Linked DNA regions of Homo sapiens: region 2 is linked to region 1. Evidence: promoter capture Hi-C in 16 types of primary human blood cells and fetal thymus (Javierre and others, 2016). All regions are on one chromosome and are shown on one strand. Each heading gives the region's core, a stretch centred on a gene start or on the middle of the fragment in contact. The rest is flanking DNA. Distances are from core to core; before and after follow the strand shown.

What was found. The method cuts DNA at HindIII sites, captures the fragments that hold promoters and counts their contacts. A CHiCAGO score of 5 or more calls a contact.
Region 2: a fragment that was not itself captured here is called in contact with the fragment with the promoter of GNB3 in region 1 in 13 of 17 cell types (non-activated CD4 T cells, activated CD4 T cells, total CD4 T cells and 10 more); the score reaches 13.1 in non-activated CD4 T cells.

The regions. Positions count from the first base shown.
Region 1 is chr12:6,835,320-6,842,979 of GRCh38, forward strand. GNB3 (G protein subunit beta 3) reads left to right here and starts at 5,606. Exons shown (of 10, transcript NM_002075.4): 1 at 5,606-5,714; 2 at 5,939-6,025; 3 at 6,267-6,305; 4 at 7,651-7,660. The coding sequence starts at 5,969. P3H3 (prolyl 3-hydroxylase 3) reads left to right here. Exons shown (of 15, transcript NM_014262.5): 10 at 1,666-1,767; 11 at 2,104-2,254; 12 at 2,413-2,530; 13 at 2,639-2,714; 14 at 3,681-3,821; 15 at 3,978-4,528. The coding sequence ends at 4,142. The HindIII fragment of the contact is 12,557 bases long and covers 1-7,660 here.
Region 2 is chr12:6,734,639-6,742,321 of GRCh38, forward strand. No RefSeq gene overlaps it. Among named protein-coding and RNA genes, the nearest start is that of COPS7A, 14 kb to the left of the region's middle. The HindIII fragment of the contact is 1,764 bases long and covers 4,901-6,664 here.

The DNA of each region.
Region 1 (7,660 bases), core at 4,356-6,855:
TGCCTGTAATCCCAGCACTTTAGGAGGTCAAGGCAGGTGGATCACTTGAGGTCAGGAGTTCAAGACCAGCCTGGCCAACATGGTGAAACCCGGTCTTTACTAAAAATACAAAAAAATTAGTGGGCATTGTGGCAGGTGCCAGTAATCCCAACTACTGGGGAGGCTGAGGCAGGAGAATCGCTTGGACCCAGGAGGCGGAGGTCGCAGTGAGCCGAGATCGCACCATTGCAGTCCAGCCTGGGCAACAAGATCAAAACTCCGCCTCGAAAAATAAATTTTTTTAAATAATTAATTAATTAATTAATTAATTAAAAAAGAACATAGAATCATCAGGGTGTATGTTACCAAGAGACAGTATAGGGAAAGAGGGAGAGAGCCCACACATGAAGGCCGAGGGACAGTGAGTGTCTTCTGTGGCCTCCCAAGGAGTTTGGGCTTTATCTGTGTATGGTAGACAGCTGTTGCAGGATTTTAGGACGGTTGACTTTTGCATTCCTGTAGTACCTGGAATCAGGTGCAGGGTCTGGAGTCACCTGTAGGAGTGGTAGAGCCCTCTAGTGGCAGTCTGTAGAATGCAGTGGGAGAAAGACCCGGAAAAGGGGAGTAATTGACGAATGCCACCGTTGGCTGGCGAGGTGGCTCACACCTGTAATCCCAGCACTTTGGGAGGCTGAGGCAGGCGAATGGCTTGAGCCCAGGAGTTCCAGGCCAGCCTGAGCAACGTGGTAAAACCCCGTCTCTACAAAAATACAAAAAATTAGCTGGGCCTATGCGCCTATATGTTCCCACCTACTTGGGAGGCTGAGGTGGGAGGACCTCTGGAGCCTGGGAGGTGGAGATTGCAGTGAGCTATGATGGCGCCACTGCACTCCAGCCTGGGCGATAGAGCAAGACCCCGTCTCAAAAACAAAAAATGAAAAAAAAAAAAAACCCCAGGTTAGACGGCTTGGGTGACTAGGTGTCTCTCAGAAGTGAGATTTGTATGCAGGCGTAACTAGATAGTGGTGCTTAAACAAATTCAAAAAGTAGACAAAAAACGGGTGTCAGAAAAGCGAATAATTCCAGTGTAGACATCCAGATATTAGGAGACCCCCAGGTAGTGAGAGTGGTCGCGGAGGTGGCTGGGTAGTTGTGACTCAGTATCAAGGAGTGGGGGAGCCACGGAGTCCACAGTTTCTCCGAGAGCATGTCAGGTGGGAAGAGGTCAGAGAGGGATAGCCCGCTGATGCTGTCTCCCTACCGCCAGTCTGGCCTAACTGTGGAACTTCCTCTTAGGGTCCTGTTTCCAGAGGGACTCCTCTATTCTTGGCTCATCGGGGATTAATGATCAAGCCCTTCCTGCCTAGTTCCCAGCTCTGCCCCACTTTTCCAGCTGTCCCTACCCTCTCAGAGGCCCCCTTACTGCTGTAGGAAGCTCTCCCGAGTTCTCTCCACAGTCCCCTTAGTAAGCGGGATTCCAGCCCGTACCAGAGAGGGACAATCGGACAGCCGTGGCGGTGGGCACTCTCTGGGAAAGAGCAGCAGCTCAGGAAGACGAGCCACAACAGAACTGTGGGAGCATCTAGCTTCTTCTGGAGAGCGGGAGGGCCGGAGGGAGGGTCTTGCAGCCCTGCAGACAGTGAGGGGCTGGGGGAGTGACTCCACGGTAAACTCCTTCCTATTTAGGATGCAGCTGGGGCTGGAGCCAGGTCTGGCTATCGTGGTCGCCGCTCCCCTCACACCCCCCATGAACGCTTCGAGGGGCTCACGGTGCTTAAGGCTGCGCAGGTGAGCACAGGAGGCACCCGGGCCCGTCTGATGCCCAGACCTGGAGGAGAGGCTGTGCAGGAAGCCGGGCCCCAGGGCCTGGGCTTTTGTGAAGGAGCTTTCTTGGGACCGAGACTACCTGATAGGACCCAGCGTGGAGAAAAGGGATGTTCTGAGAGCTGGGGCCGGGGTTGTTGTCATGGAGAGAGAAGGAGCAGTTTGGGCTGATGGACAGAGCTGGATGCTGACAGACTCCAAACCCATGGGTGGAGAGCGGCAGAGTTGGGCAGGGGCTAGGGCCGAGACCACCCTCCCCTTGCCTTCCTCCTTTTCTGCCCTGCCTTTCACTGCCTGCAGCTGGCCCGGGCTGGGACAGTGGGCAGTCAGGGTGCTAAGCTGCTTCTGGAGGTGAGCGAGCGGGTGCGGACCTTGACCCAGGCCTACTTCTCCCCGGAACGGCCCCTGCATCTGTCCTTCACCCACCTGGTGTGCCGCAGCGCCATAGAAGGTACGACAGGGACCCCCCACTGCTCTTCTCCAACCTCAGGCCCTGCCCCCAGGACACTGCCCCCAAGAGCCCCGGGGTGGACGTGCACGGCCTGAGCCCACAGGGTGGCAGATGGGCACAGGGGCACAGAGGTACCCCCAGACCCCTTTGTGTCCTAGGAGAGCAAGAGCAGCGCATGGACCTGAGTCACCCAGTGCACGCAGACAACTGCGTCCTGGACCCTGACACGGGAGAGTGCTGGCGGGAGCCCCCAGCCTACACCTATCGGGACTACAGGTGGGCAGCCCCTCTAGTGGTCAGGCAGGTGGGCAGACAAAGGTCATCCCACTGCCGGCCTGGGCCTGGGTTGGGGTCTCACTGCCTCTTGCTTTTTTCCCTCCCCAGCGGACTCCTCTACCTCAACGATGACTTCCAGGGTGGGGACCTGTTCTTCACGGAGCCCAACGCCCTCACTGTCACGGTGCGTGGAGTGGGGGGTGTGACGGTGTGACAAAGGGCCCAGCTGTGGGGTCAGGATTCAAAACAGAAGGCTCCAGAGGCAAATGCAGGGAAATGGCCAGGGCTTTTAACCCTTTCACTTCCCCGCCTCCGCAGCCCTCCCGCTGCTTCCTCCGTAGCAAGGTCTCTAAGTGGCCGAATCAACCCTACCATCAGTATTTGTCTCGCCTCCTAAAGAAGGGTGAATGAAGCACAGCTTGCAGGTGCCTCCAGGACTCCATGGCCCTATTCTAGGGATTTGGGGAACTTGAAATAGTCCTTCCTCTTTGCAGCGAGGTGAGCACAGTGGCTGGCGCACAGATACCAGGGCCGCCTTGACTGGGGCTCGGATTCTGAACCTTTCTGAGGTTTAGTTTCCTAGACTGGGGTGATAATAATAGTACGTATTTTAAAGGGTCATTGTAGGAAGTAATTTAGGTAATGTACCTAAAAGAATGAGGCAGCGCCTGGTAATGATAAGCAATTAATGAATGTTAGGTGGGAAATTTCCGGACACCAGGGGCTAGGATTGGGTAGGAGGAGAGGGGCAGTGATTGTTCATCTGGGTGTGGGGTGTGAAAATGGTTCCAATATCTGTATCCCCTTCTGCATAGAGTCTGGTACTGCATGCACAGCCCCAGATTGCTTCAAGCCCTGGATTCAAAGGGCTGAGTGGGAAAAATCAGGGTACCAGGGGTCAGGAACCAACAGGAGACCATCCGTGGAGACCCCTTTTTCCTTTGGTTCCCAACTCCTCTTGCATTTTTGCTCTGCAAGTTGAAGCTGATTTCTCATTTGCCCCAAGCTAGTCCCTGAATTAAGGAGTAGGAAGTGGTAGCGAGAGAGCTGATCCTCTCTGTGCCCCTGTCCCCATCCTGCTCTAGGGAGTGAGGGCCAAGTTCTCTGAGAGAGCCAATCCCTGGAGCTGAACCTGCCCTCATCCCTCCAGGCTCGGGTGCGTCCTCGCTGTGGGCGCCTTGTGGCCTTCAGCTCCGGTGTCGAGAATCCCCATGGGGTGTGGGCCGTGACTCGGGGACGGCGCTGTGCCCTGGCACTGTGGCACACGTGGGCACCTGAGCACAGGGAGCAGGTAAGGAGCGGGGTAGGAAGGGATGTGGTTCTCCTGGTGCGTGAAGGGTGGGCAAGGAGCCCCCGAGAAGGCTCACAGTCGGTGAGGGTCAGGGGCTGAGCTGACCCAGGGAAGGTGGGTGCAGGGAATGGGCCACACTCTCCTCCCCAACCCCAGGAGTGGATAGAAGCCAAAGAACTGCTGCAGGAGTCACAGGAGGAGGAGGAAGAGGAAGAGGAAGAAATGCCCAGCAAAGACCCTTCCCCAGAGCCCCCTAGCCGCAGGCACCAGAGGGTCCAAGACAAGACTGGAAGGGCACCTCGGGTTCGGGAGGAGCTGTGAGTGGCTGAGCCAGCTCCTTGAGGATGTGGCCACTTGACTTGTGGAAGGCCATCTTGATGCCAGGACACACAGGAAGCCCCTGTGTGACATCAGGAGCAGAACAGCAAGCTCTCTGTCCCTGCACCCCCACCATCTTGGGGACCTACAAGGGCCTGGACTCAGAGGACAGTGCACAGGCTAGCCTGGAGCTCACCAGGCCTGGGGAGCTGGGACGGGGCCCCGCTGCCGGACCTGCAGCCCTGGACAGATGGGGAACACTGTGCCTCCCTGAACAGAAATGGCAGGGGAGGAGGCTGATGCTTTAAATGAAGAGGATGGTGGGGTTGGGAGGTATAACCCTGCTCCTCTCTCCCAGTCTGTGCAATAAAGGTCGTGAAGATCTCTCAGCCAGGGGCCAGTCAAGTGTATCACAGATTCTGTGATGGCTGGAGGTGGGGGTGGCTCTGGCTGGCCTGGGAGGAGACAGGTGTCTTTGGGCCTCCCAGAGGCGGGGCGCCTGGAGCCTGTGATTTGTCAGGGAAATCTCAGCCACCTGCTCCCCTCATGCAAATGACCCAAGCCCCTGGCAGCTGCTCCTTAGGCCTCCAAGTGTAAGCCCTGTCTTCCCTCTCTGAGCTTTGCTGAGACTTAGGGCCGCCTGCTTTCTCTCTGACCCCTGCTTTCACAGCCTCGAGAGGGCAAGGAGGGGGCCAGACCCCAGCCTGGGAGCAGCGTGCGGGCCTTCCCTCCACTTGAAATCCGTTGCCCGCCCACAATAGGGGCAGACCTGTCCATCCTTCTCTGTGGGTCCCCTGTACCTTTCTCCCCCAACAGGATCAGACCCAGAGGCAGCTGGTTGGGGTTTGTCGAGAAGAAGGATTATCCAGATCAGTCCTTTCTAATCTCAGCTCCTGCCTGTACCCTCCCATACTCACCAAACCCTCTTCCCCACCACCCTGAGCTGAGGAGCACAGTTTGAGGTACTGACAATGGGGCCATCTATCACCCTTATATCCCACCTCCTGGCCTGGTTGCTAAGTGGCCCTGACTGCCAAGATCATCACCATGGATGGGGGCCGGGACCAGGGGGGCCACTGGAGCTGTAGTTGTCTGCTCCTTTGCACCCCTCCCAAACCCCAACCCTTAATCCTCACAGCTTTGCTCTAATCCTGTGGGGCCTGATGCTCTTATCTCTGCCTGCAGAGACTGACCAGGGAAGCACCCCTTCACCCCCTCCTCTCTCAGGGCTTGTGGTGGGGGCTGCCCCTCTCTATGGCCCCACACTCCTGCCCCCAACCCTCCTCCCGGCTGGGCCCAAGTCTCTCTGGAATCCGTACACCTCCCTCCCTCCCCCCACCCCTTCCCCCCACCCCTGCCAGCTGATTTCATTTGCCTGACGTTGTGGTTGGCTCTACCCTTCCCTGTCAGGCCCCCCCAACCCCCCGCCGGTCGGGGCCAGGCCAGGCCAGGCCAGCTCCTCTGGCAGCAGAGCCTGGGCAGGTGACGGGCGGGCGCGGGCGTCGCAGCTGAGGGAGTAAGGAGGCTCCCAGGAACCGGAGCTGGAAACCCGGCCGAGGTCCAGCCAGAGCCCAAGTAAGAGGGAGCTGGCCTGGGCTCTGCTCTCCTGGGCTGGGGCGCAGGCAGGGCTCAGGCAGGCTGGGGCTGGACGCAAAGGACCTCAAACTTGGAGGGCCTAGCTGGGGAGAGGGTGCAGCCACCCAGTCGTTTCCCTGTGTCTTGGAGTCTGGTGTGGGCACGAAGGGCAGAAGCACAGCCTGGTGGGGGGTTCCTCAACACCGACCCCATGTTCCTGGCAGGAGCCAGAGTGACCCCTCGACCTGTCAGCCATGGGGGAGATGGAGCAACTGCGTCAGGAAGCGGAGCAGCTCAAGAAGCAGATTGCAGTAACTCCAGAGCCCTACCCCTGGGGCCCCAGAAAACAGCTGGGGACATGAGGAGCGTGGCCCAGGGGGAGGGGGCTGGGTTTGCTCTTGAGTGACTAGAAGTGACCAGGGACTTTCTAAACTTGGTTCGCATATTTGAGACCCCCAAGCCCCAGAGCCCCAAGACCAACCTGCCCTGAAGGCCCATGCACCTGCCACCCCCACCTCGCCCTTGCTCCCCTGATGTCTGCTTTCCCTGCAGGATGCCAGGAAAGCCTGTGCTGACGTTACTCTGGCAGAGGTAAGACCCCCTGTCCCCCGGAAGGCAGGGCATGGGGGGAGGGGAAGGGAGCTCCCCGACCCGCAATAGCGCGTTGCTCCGAGCATTAGTACAGCACGTCCTTGGAGTGAGGAAACCCATTAATTAATTCATTCGACCAACATTTTAGCGGGACCTGCTCTGAGCCAGGCACCATATTGGATGCGAAAGATGCGGACACGGTTCCTATTCTCATCCGTAGAACAAGAGTGACCACAGCCCCCTCCCAGGGCCTTGAAGATGAAGAAGCGATAGTACTTTGTAAATTATAAAGCCCTTGTAGACTCTAGCTGCTAGTTTTCTATGCTGTATTTTGTCAATTCTAAGATGCACATTTCTTCACATTTTGACATCTCTGAAATCAAGGTGCATTCAGCAATGGATCATTGTTTCAATTAGAATTGACAGCATCTTTTCTTTCTTAGTGATGCATCTTAGATTGGATTAAATATGTTAATAGTGAACACTTTTTATGAGCCAGATACTGGGCTAAGCTGCATAAATACCTGATTTCATTGAATTTTCATGATATCTCTGTAAGGTAGGTGCTATGATAAGCCTCATTTTACACCTTGAGTAAACAGACTCAGGGAGGTGAAGCAACTTGCCCAAGATAACAAAGCAGGCCGGGCGCAGTGGTTCACGCCTGTAATCCCAGCCCTTTGGGAGACTGACGTGAAAGGATCACTTGAGCTCAGGAGTTTGAGACCAGCCTGGGCAACATAGTGAGATCTCTTCTTAATATAAAAAAAATTGCTTTTAACTTTTTAAAAAAAGATAGCAATGCAAGTGATGGCAAATCAAGTCTGTTCACTCTGGACCCCCAGCCTAAGTCTAAAATGTGGTTAGAGCTCAAGGGGCATAGTACCACAGATTTCAGGAGGTACAGTTCAGGGTCATGGTGATGCCCCAGGCACCCAGTTAAAAAGCTAGCCGTGCTGCAGCGGTGGGTGCAAGCAGGCTCCTCTCGGCTTGGGAGAGCCAGCTCTGTGCATCTCTTCCCAAATCTGTTTCCAATGACCTCACATTGGCAGCTGGAAACTGGTCAAAGTGCAAGTATTCGTATCGTGGAAATCACCTTCCCACCTTCCTCACCAACACTGGAGAGGTGCTTGTTAAACACTTACAAGCAACACACCTCTGGCCATGCATGCATCTCTTTCCCACATCAGTCTAAGACACTCCAGGGCAGAGACTTATTTCTCTAAGGCTGGGGGCCTGACCTAGAGCCTGGCACAGAGCGGGAACTTGTATAGATCAGTGGCAGTGACAGACATCTGGGCACGTAACCTGCTCACCCTGATATTCAGTGCCCCTCTCTCTGCAGCTGGTGTCTG
Region 2 (7,683 bases), core at 4,533-7,032, 100 kb before region 1:
GGATTTGCTTCCCAGCTCGCTCGGTGGTTGTCAGCAGGATTCACTACTTCACAGATGGTTGGACCGGGGACCTCGTTTCCTGATTGACTGTTGGCCAGAGGCCACCGAGGTAGCCTTCTCCATCACAGCAAGAGCCAGAAAGACAACACCAGCAAGATGAAGTCACAGTCTTTTGTTACTTAATCATGGAAGTGACATTACCTCACTTTTACCAGTTACCAGGTCCAGTCTATACTCAAGGGGTGAAGGTTACACAGGGTGTGGCTGTCAGCAAGCAGGAATCATTGGAAACCATGTTAGAAGCTGCCTATCACAGGCAGTTTTTCTGGGCCACCAGCATCAAAATCATCAGGGGAGCTTCTGAAAATGTGCATTCCTGGACCCCACTTCCACCCTTTTCTATTGAATTAGAACCTCCGGGGTGTGAACTGGAAATGTGCCCTCATCACCCTCATTGACTCAGCTCTGCAAGGGCTCTGAAAAGGCTACTGCAGGGCCTTGGAAGACATGTAAGGGGGCCCAAGGTCACCGTCTGAGAGAGAAGGGAAAAGTGAAACTTTTGAGTACAGGGCAAGAGAGCAAGAGAAACTTGTCCTTTGAGGTTCTTAAGTACATGGTTATATATTACAAGTGTGATAAGTACTTTAAGAAGTATTGGGTGACACGAAAGCATTTAACTGGGATCTACATCTTGCTTGGGGTCAGAAAAGCCTCCAAGGACATGACCTTTAAACTGAAACTAGAAGCCCAAGTAGGAATTAGCCTGATGAAAGAGAGGGCGAGCATCTTGGATGGGAAGAATAGTGGGATAAAGGCCTGCAGGCAGAAAGGCTTCATTCTGTGACCCGCTGCCTGTCCCTCAATAGGAAATGCATAATTTGGGGAATGGGGCAAGATAGACAATCCTATACTTACTGTTCATTTATCAGTCAATTGGCAAATACATCTTGTTTTTTGTTTTATTTTGCTTTTGAGACCATGTCTTGCTCTGTCACCCAGGCTGGAGTACAGTGGCACGATCATATGGGAATGGAGAGGGAAGCCCCAGGGGCCCAAAAAATGTCAGAGAGACACGGGAGGAAAATCAAGAGAACAATCCCGTAAAAGTTTATGAACTCCTGGGCTAAGCTCTGAGCTGTGCAAGCGTAGATCTGTCCCTGAACAGCCTACCTAAGGCTTTGTGAACTGAATTACAGAATGGATCACTGTCCAGGTCTGACTGGCCACTGGGTGGCACCCGAGCCGGCCTGATCCAAATAGCACTGCAAACACTTTTAAAATAAAACCGACATTGAAACCACAGTGCCAAAAAGGCAGGTCAAAACTTGCTGCCTGAACCTGATTACCTGCTAAAACAAATTACCATTCAACATGTTCAACATGCTCCTTAAGATTTTAACAAGACCCAGAGCCTCAAACCATAATATTCAAAATATCCAGAGTATGATTTAAGGTGACTCAGCATACAAATAACTCTCCAGGGAAAAGACAGCCAACCCCAAGGAGGCAGAAGTGTTGGAATTTAAAGCAAATGCTGCAAGCAGTCTAACCATGCAGGAAGAAGAAAGGGAGAATGCTTTTGAAACAAATGTAAAGAAAGTCTTAGCAAAGAAATGGAAGATATAAAGAACCAAACAGAAAATAGCAATAACTAGGCCGGATGTGGTGGCTCACGCCTGTAATTCCAGCACTTTGGGAAGCTGAGCTGGACCATTCACCTGAGGTCAGGAGTTCGAGACTAGCCTGGCCAACATGGTGAAACCCCACCTTTACTAAAAATACAAAAATTAGCCAGGCGTGGTGGCAGGCACCTGTAATCTCAGCTACTTGGGAGGCTGAGGCAGGAGAATCGCTTCAACCTGGGAGGTGGAGGTTACAGTGAGCTGAGATTGTGCCATTGCACTCCCCCAGCCTGGGTGACAACAGCGAGACTCTGTCTCAAAAACAAAAACAAAAACAAAAACTTCCCAAACCTGGCAAAAGACAAAGACAGATTCAAAAAGTTTGGTGGATAGCAAACAAGATATACTCAAATCCATGTCCATAGCCAGCGTGGTGGCACATGCCTGTAGTCCGAGCTACTTGGAAGACTGAGGCAGGAGAATCACTTGAACCTGGGAGGTGGAAGTTGCAGTGAACCGAGATCAAGCCAACTGCACTCCAGCCTGAGTGATAGAGCTAGACTCTGTCTCAAAAAAAAAAAAAAAAATCCATATCTGGACACATCAGAATAAAATTGCCGAAGGTTAAAGACAAAGAAAAAAGTCCCACAAGCATTCAGAAAAACAGTGCTTTTCACACAGGATAAAAATGACTCAAATGACTGCACATTTTTCGTCAGAAACTATGAAAGTCAGGTGGAACTAGAATGATACTTTTAAGGGGCTTAAGGGAATTAACTCAAAATCCTATATCCAGTGAAAATATTGCTCAGGAATGAATGTGAAATAAAGATATTCTCAGGTGAAGGAAAATAAGAATTTGTCACCGGAAAACCCGCTGTAAAATCCTAAAGGAAGTTCTTTAGGCAGAAGAGAAATGACACCAAAGGAAACACGGAACATTAAGGATGAAGAGCAGCAGCAATGGTAAATATAATAGATTATTTTTCTCCTCTTAAGTTCTTTAAAATGTTTATGACAGCTGAAAGAAAATCATAAATTTGATGTTTGTCTCAAGAGGGAATTCTCTAAATATAATTTTAAAACAATTATAAATTCACCTAGAGCCATGCACCGCGGCTCACGCCTGTAATCCCAGCACTTTGGGAGGCTAAGGCGGGCGGAACACTTGAGGTCAGGAGTTGGAGACCAGCCTGGCCAACATGGTGAAACCCTGTCTCTACTAAAAACACAAAAATTAGCCGGGCGTGGTGGTGCATGCCTGTAATCCCAGCTACTTGGGAGGCTGAGGCAGGAGAACTGTTTGAACCTGGAGGTAGAGGTTGCAGTGAGCTGAGATCGCGCCATTGCACTCCAGCCTGGGCAAGAAGAGTGAAACTCCGTCTCAAGAAATAAATAAATTCACCTAGAAGGCTAGGTGTGGTGACTCACACCTATAATCTCAGCACTTTGGGAGGCTGAGATGGGCAGATCTCTTCAGCCTAGGAGTTCTAGACTAGCCTAGGCAACATGGTGAAACTTCGCCGCTATAAAAAATACAAAAAAAATTAGTGGGGCATGGTGGCCTGTGCCTGTAGTCCCAGCTACTTGGGAGGCTAAGGCAGGAGAATTGCTTGAGCCTGGGAGGTAGAGGTTGCAGTGAGCCAAGATTGTGCCATTGCATTCTAGTCTGGGCAACAGGAGTGAAACCCTGTCTCAAAAATTAAAAATCAATAGATAAATTCACCTAGAACTAAGCATTTTTAGCGTTTAGTATGTGGAGTTTCAGTATTTGTAGTATGTGGTGTTTGTCATTTATAGTAACACATATGAGAACTACGAGATGAGACAGTAAAGGGAGCTATGTTGTGGTAAAATTTCTACATTTAACTTGAAGTGGTAGAAAAAAACTCTGATTGTGAAAAGTATGTATTTTGTAATCCCCATAGTAAGGGTTAGTAAACCATATTCCACAGGCCAAATCCAGCCCACTGCCTGTTTTTGTAAATACAGTTTTGTTGGACTGTAGTTACACCTCATTCATTGCATATCATGTATGGTTGCTTTTGCACTACAGCATCAGATTTGGGTGTTGCAACACACATTGTATGGCTGACAAAGCTCATCATATTTATTGTATCTGGCCCTTTACAGAAAAAGTTTGCCGGCCCAGTGTAGTGACTCTTGCCTATAATCCCAGCACTTTGGGAGGCCGAGGCGGGTGGATCACGAGGTCAGGAGTTCAAGAACAGATTGGCCAAAATGGTGAAAGTCCGCCTCCACCAAAACTACAAAAATTAGCCAGGCGAGGTGGCAGGCGCCTGTAATCCCAGCTTTTCAGGAGGCCAAGGCAGGAGAATTGCCTGAACCCAGGTGGCAGAGGTTGCAGTGAGGCGAGATGTCACCAATGCCTGTCCTAGAGCGACCACTAAAGAAAAGAAAGCCAGGCGCGGTGGCTCATGCCTGTAATCCAAACACTTTGGGAAGCCAAGGTGGGCAGATCACGAGGTCAAGAGATCGAGATCATCCTGGCCAACAGGGTGAAACCCTGTCTCTACTAAAAATACAAAAATTAGGCCTGGCGCGGTGGCTCACGGCTGTAATCCCAGCACTTTGGGAGGCGGAGGCGGGCAGATCACGAGGTCAGGAGATCGAGACCATCCTGGCTAACACGGTGAAACCCCGTCTCTACTAAAAATACAAAAAAAAAAAAAAAAAAAAAAATTAGCCGGGCGTGGTGGCGGGCGCCTGTAGTCCCAGCTACTTGGGAGGCTGAGGCAGGAGAATGGCGTGAACGCGGCAGGCGGAGCTTGCAGTGAGCCAAGATCGCGCCACTGCACTCCAGCCTGGGCGACAGGAGCGAGACTCTGTCTCAAAAAAAAAAAAAAAAAAAAAATTCGCTGGGCATGGTGGTGGGCGCCTGTAGTCCCAGCTAATCGGCAGGCTGAGGCAGGAGAATCACTTGAGCCCGGGAGGCGGAGGTTGCAGTGAGCCTAAGTTTGCAGAGAGCCGAGATCGCGCCTCTGCACTCCAGCCTGGGCGACAGAGCAAGACTCCGTTTCAAAAACAAAAAACAAAACAAAAAGCCGGGCGCGGTGGTTCAAGCCTGTAATCCCAGCACTTTGGGAGGTCGAGGCGGGCGGATCACGAGGTCAGGAGATCAAGACCATCCTGGCTAACACGGTGAAAACGCGTCTCTACTAAAAATACAAAAAAATAGCCGGGCGTGGTGGCGGGCTCCTGTAGTTCCAGCTACTCGGGAGGCTGAGGCAGGAGAATGGCGTGAACTCAGGAGGCGAAGCTTCCAGAGAGCCGAGATCACACCACTGCACTCCAGCCTGGGCGACAGAGCGAGACTCCGACTCAAAAAATGAAGAAAAAGAAAAGAAAATGATACAGAGATTTACTGGGTGAAAAAAATCTGTACATAAATTAAAATGGAATACTAAATAACATTCAAGTAAACCAATACAAGGCTGGAAAATGGAGACAGAGAAATTACAAACAGAACAAACAAAATAAATAATAAATAATAGAAATATTGCCGGGCGCGGTGGCTCACACCTGTAATCTCAGCACTTTGGGAAGCCGAGGCAGGTGGATCACGAGATCGAGACCGTCCTGGCTAACATGGTGAAACCCCATCTCTACTAAAAATACAAAAAAATTAGCCGGGCGTGGTGGCGGGCACCTGTAGTCCCAGTCACTTGGGAGGCTGAGGCAGGAGAATGGCATGAACCCGGGAGGCGGAGCTTGCAGTGGGCCGAGACCGTGCCACTGCACTGAAGCCTGGGCAACAGAGTGAGACTCTGTCTCAAAAAAAAAAAAAGAAAGAAAGAAACAAAGAAAAAAAAAGAGATAAATGCAAACATACTAATTATATTAATTTTTTATTTTTATTTATTTATTTTTTTGAGATGGAGTCTCACTCTTGTCGCCCAGGCTGGAGCGCAGTGGCGCGATCTCAGCTTGCTACAACCTCTGCCTCCCAGGTTCAAGCTATTCTCCTGCCTCAGCCTCCCGAGTAGCTGGGATTACAGGCATATGCACCAAGCCCAGCTGATTTTTGTATTTTTAGTAGAGACAGGGTTTCACCATGTTGGCCAGGACAGTCTCGAACTCCTGACCTCAGGCAATCCTCCCGCCTTGGCCTCCCAAAGTGCTGGGATTACAGGTGTGAGTCACCACACCTGGGCAATTATATTAAATTTAAATGGCCTAACTACAATTAAAAGACGGATAGGCTGGTGGTATACATCTGTAGTTCCAGCTACTTGGGAGGCTGAGTTGGGAGGATTGCTTGAGCCTGAGAAGTTAAGGCTGCAGTGAGCTGTAACTGTGCCACTGCACTGCAGCCTGGGTAACAGAGTGAGACCCTGTCTCAAAAAAAAAAAAAAAAGAAAAAAAAAAAAGACTCACTTCTTAACTCCAGCACTTTGGGAGGCTGAGGCGTGAGGATCACTTGAGCCCATGATTTTGACACTAGCCTGTGCAACACAGTGAATAGAGACCCCATCTCTATTTTAAAAAAATATCAAAATAATTTTTTTCTTTTTTTTGAGACAGAGTCTCACTCTGTTGCCAGGCTGGAGTGCAGTAGTGCGATCTCGGCTCACTGCAACCTCCGCCTCCCCGGTTCGCGCCATTCTCCTGCCTCAGCCTCCCGAGTAGCTGGGACTACAGGCGCCCATCACCACGCCTTCCTAATTTTTTTTGTATTTTTAGTGGAGATGGGGTTTCACTGTGTTAACCAGGATGGTCTCGATCTCCTGACCTCGTGATCTGCCTACCCCGGCCTCACAAAATGCTGGGATTACAGGCGTAACCACCGCGCCCGGCCAAAATAATTTTTTTAAAAGACCCAGAAATACAGTGTCTTAAAAAAGAAAACAAATACTTTTAAGTATGACATAGGTCGGTTAAAAGTAAAAAGATGGAGAAACACGTACCATGAACACTAACCAAAAGAAAGTTGAAAATGGCTGTAGTAACAGTTAACTAAACTTCAGAGCAAAGAAAATTACCAGAGATAAAGAGGGACATTGGCTGGGCTTGGTGGCTTAAGCTTGTAATCCCAGCACTTTAGGAGGCCGAGGTGGGCAGATCACGAAGTCAGGAGTTCCAGACCAGCCTGGCCAACATGGTGTAACCCCCATCAATACTAAAAATACAAAAAAATTAGCCAGGCGTGTAATCCCAGCTACTTAGAAGGCTGAGGCAGGAGGATCACTTGAACCTGGGAGGCAGAGGTTGCAGTGAGCCGAGATCATGCCACTGCACTCCAGCCTGGGTGACAGAGCGAGACTCTGTCTCAAAAAAAACAAAACAAAACAAAAAAGACATTACATAATAAGATATTTGGTTTTCCAAGTAGATACAATAATTCTAAATGTCTATGCATTTAACTAAAGCGCTTTAAAATGCACAAAGCAGGCCGGCCACTGTGGCTCACGCCTGTAATCCCAGCACTTTGGGAGGCCCAGGTGGGCAGATCACTTGAAGTCAGGAGTTTGAGACCAGCCTGGCCAACATGGTGAAACCCCATCTCTACCGAAAATATAAAAAATTAGCCAGGCGTGGTGGCATGCGACTGTAATTGCAGTTACTCAGGAGGCTGAGGCAGGAGAATTACTTGAACCTGGGAGGTGGTCTAGCAGTAGCGAAAAGTGTCAAGGAACAACACCCGCTACTTAGCAGACCGGGAAAGTGAGTCTCCTTTTCCCCGGGGGAGTTTAGAGAAGACTCTGCTCCTCCACCTCTTGTGGAGGGCCTGACATTAGTCAGGCTGGCCCGCGGTTATCCGGAGGCCTAACCCTCTCCCTGTGATGCTGTGCTTCAGTGGTCACGCTCCTAGTCCGCCTTCATGTTCCATCCTGTACACCTGGCTCTGCCTTCTAGATAGCGGTAGTAAATTAGTGAAAGTACTAAAAGTCTCTGATATGCAGAAATAATGGCGTAAGCTGTCTTTCTCTCTGTCTCCTCTCTCTCTCTCTCTGCCTCAGCTGCCAGGCAGGGAAGGGCCCCCTGTCCAGTGGACACGTGACCCACGTGACCTTACCTATCATTGGAGATGACTCACATT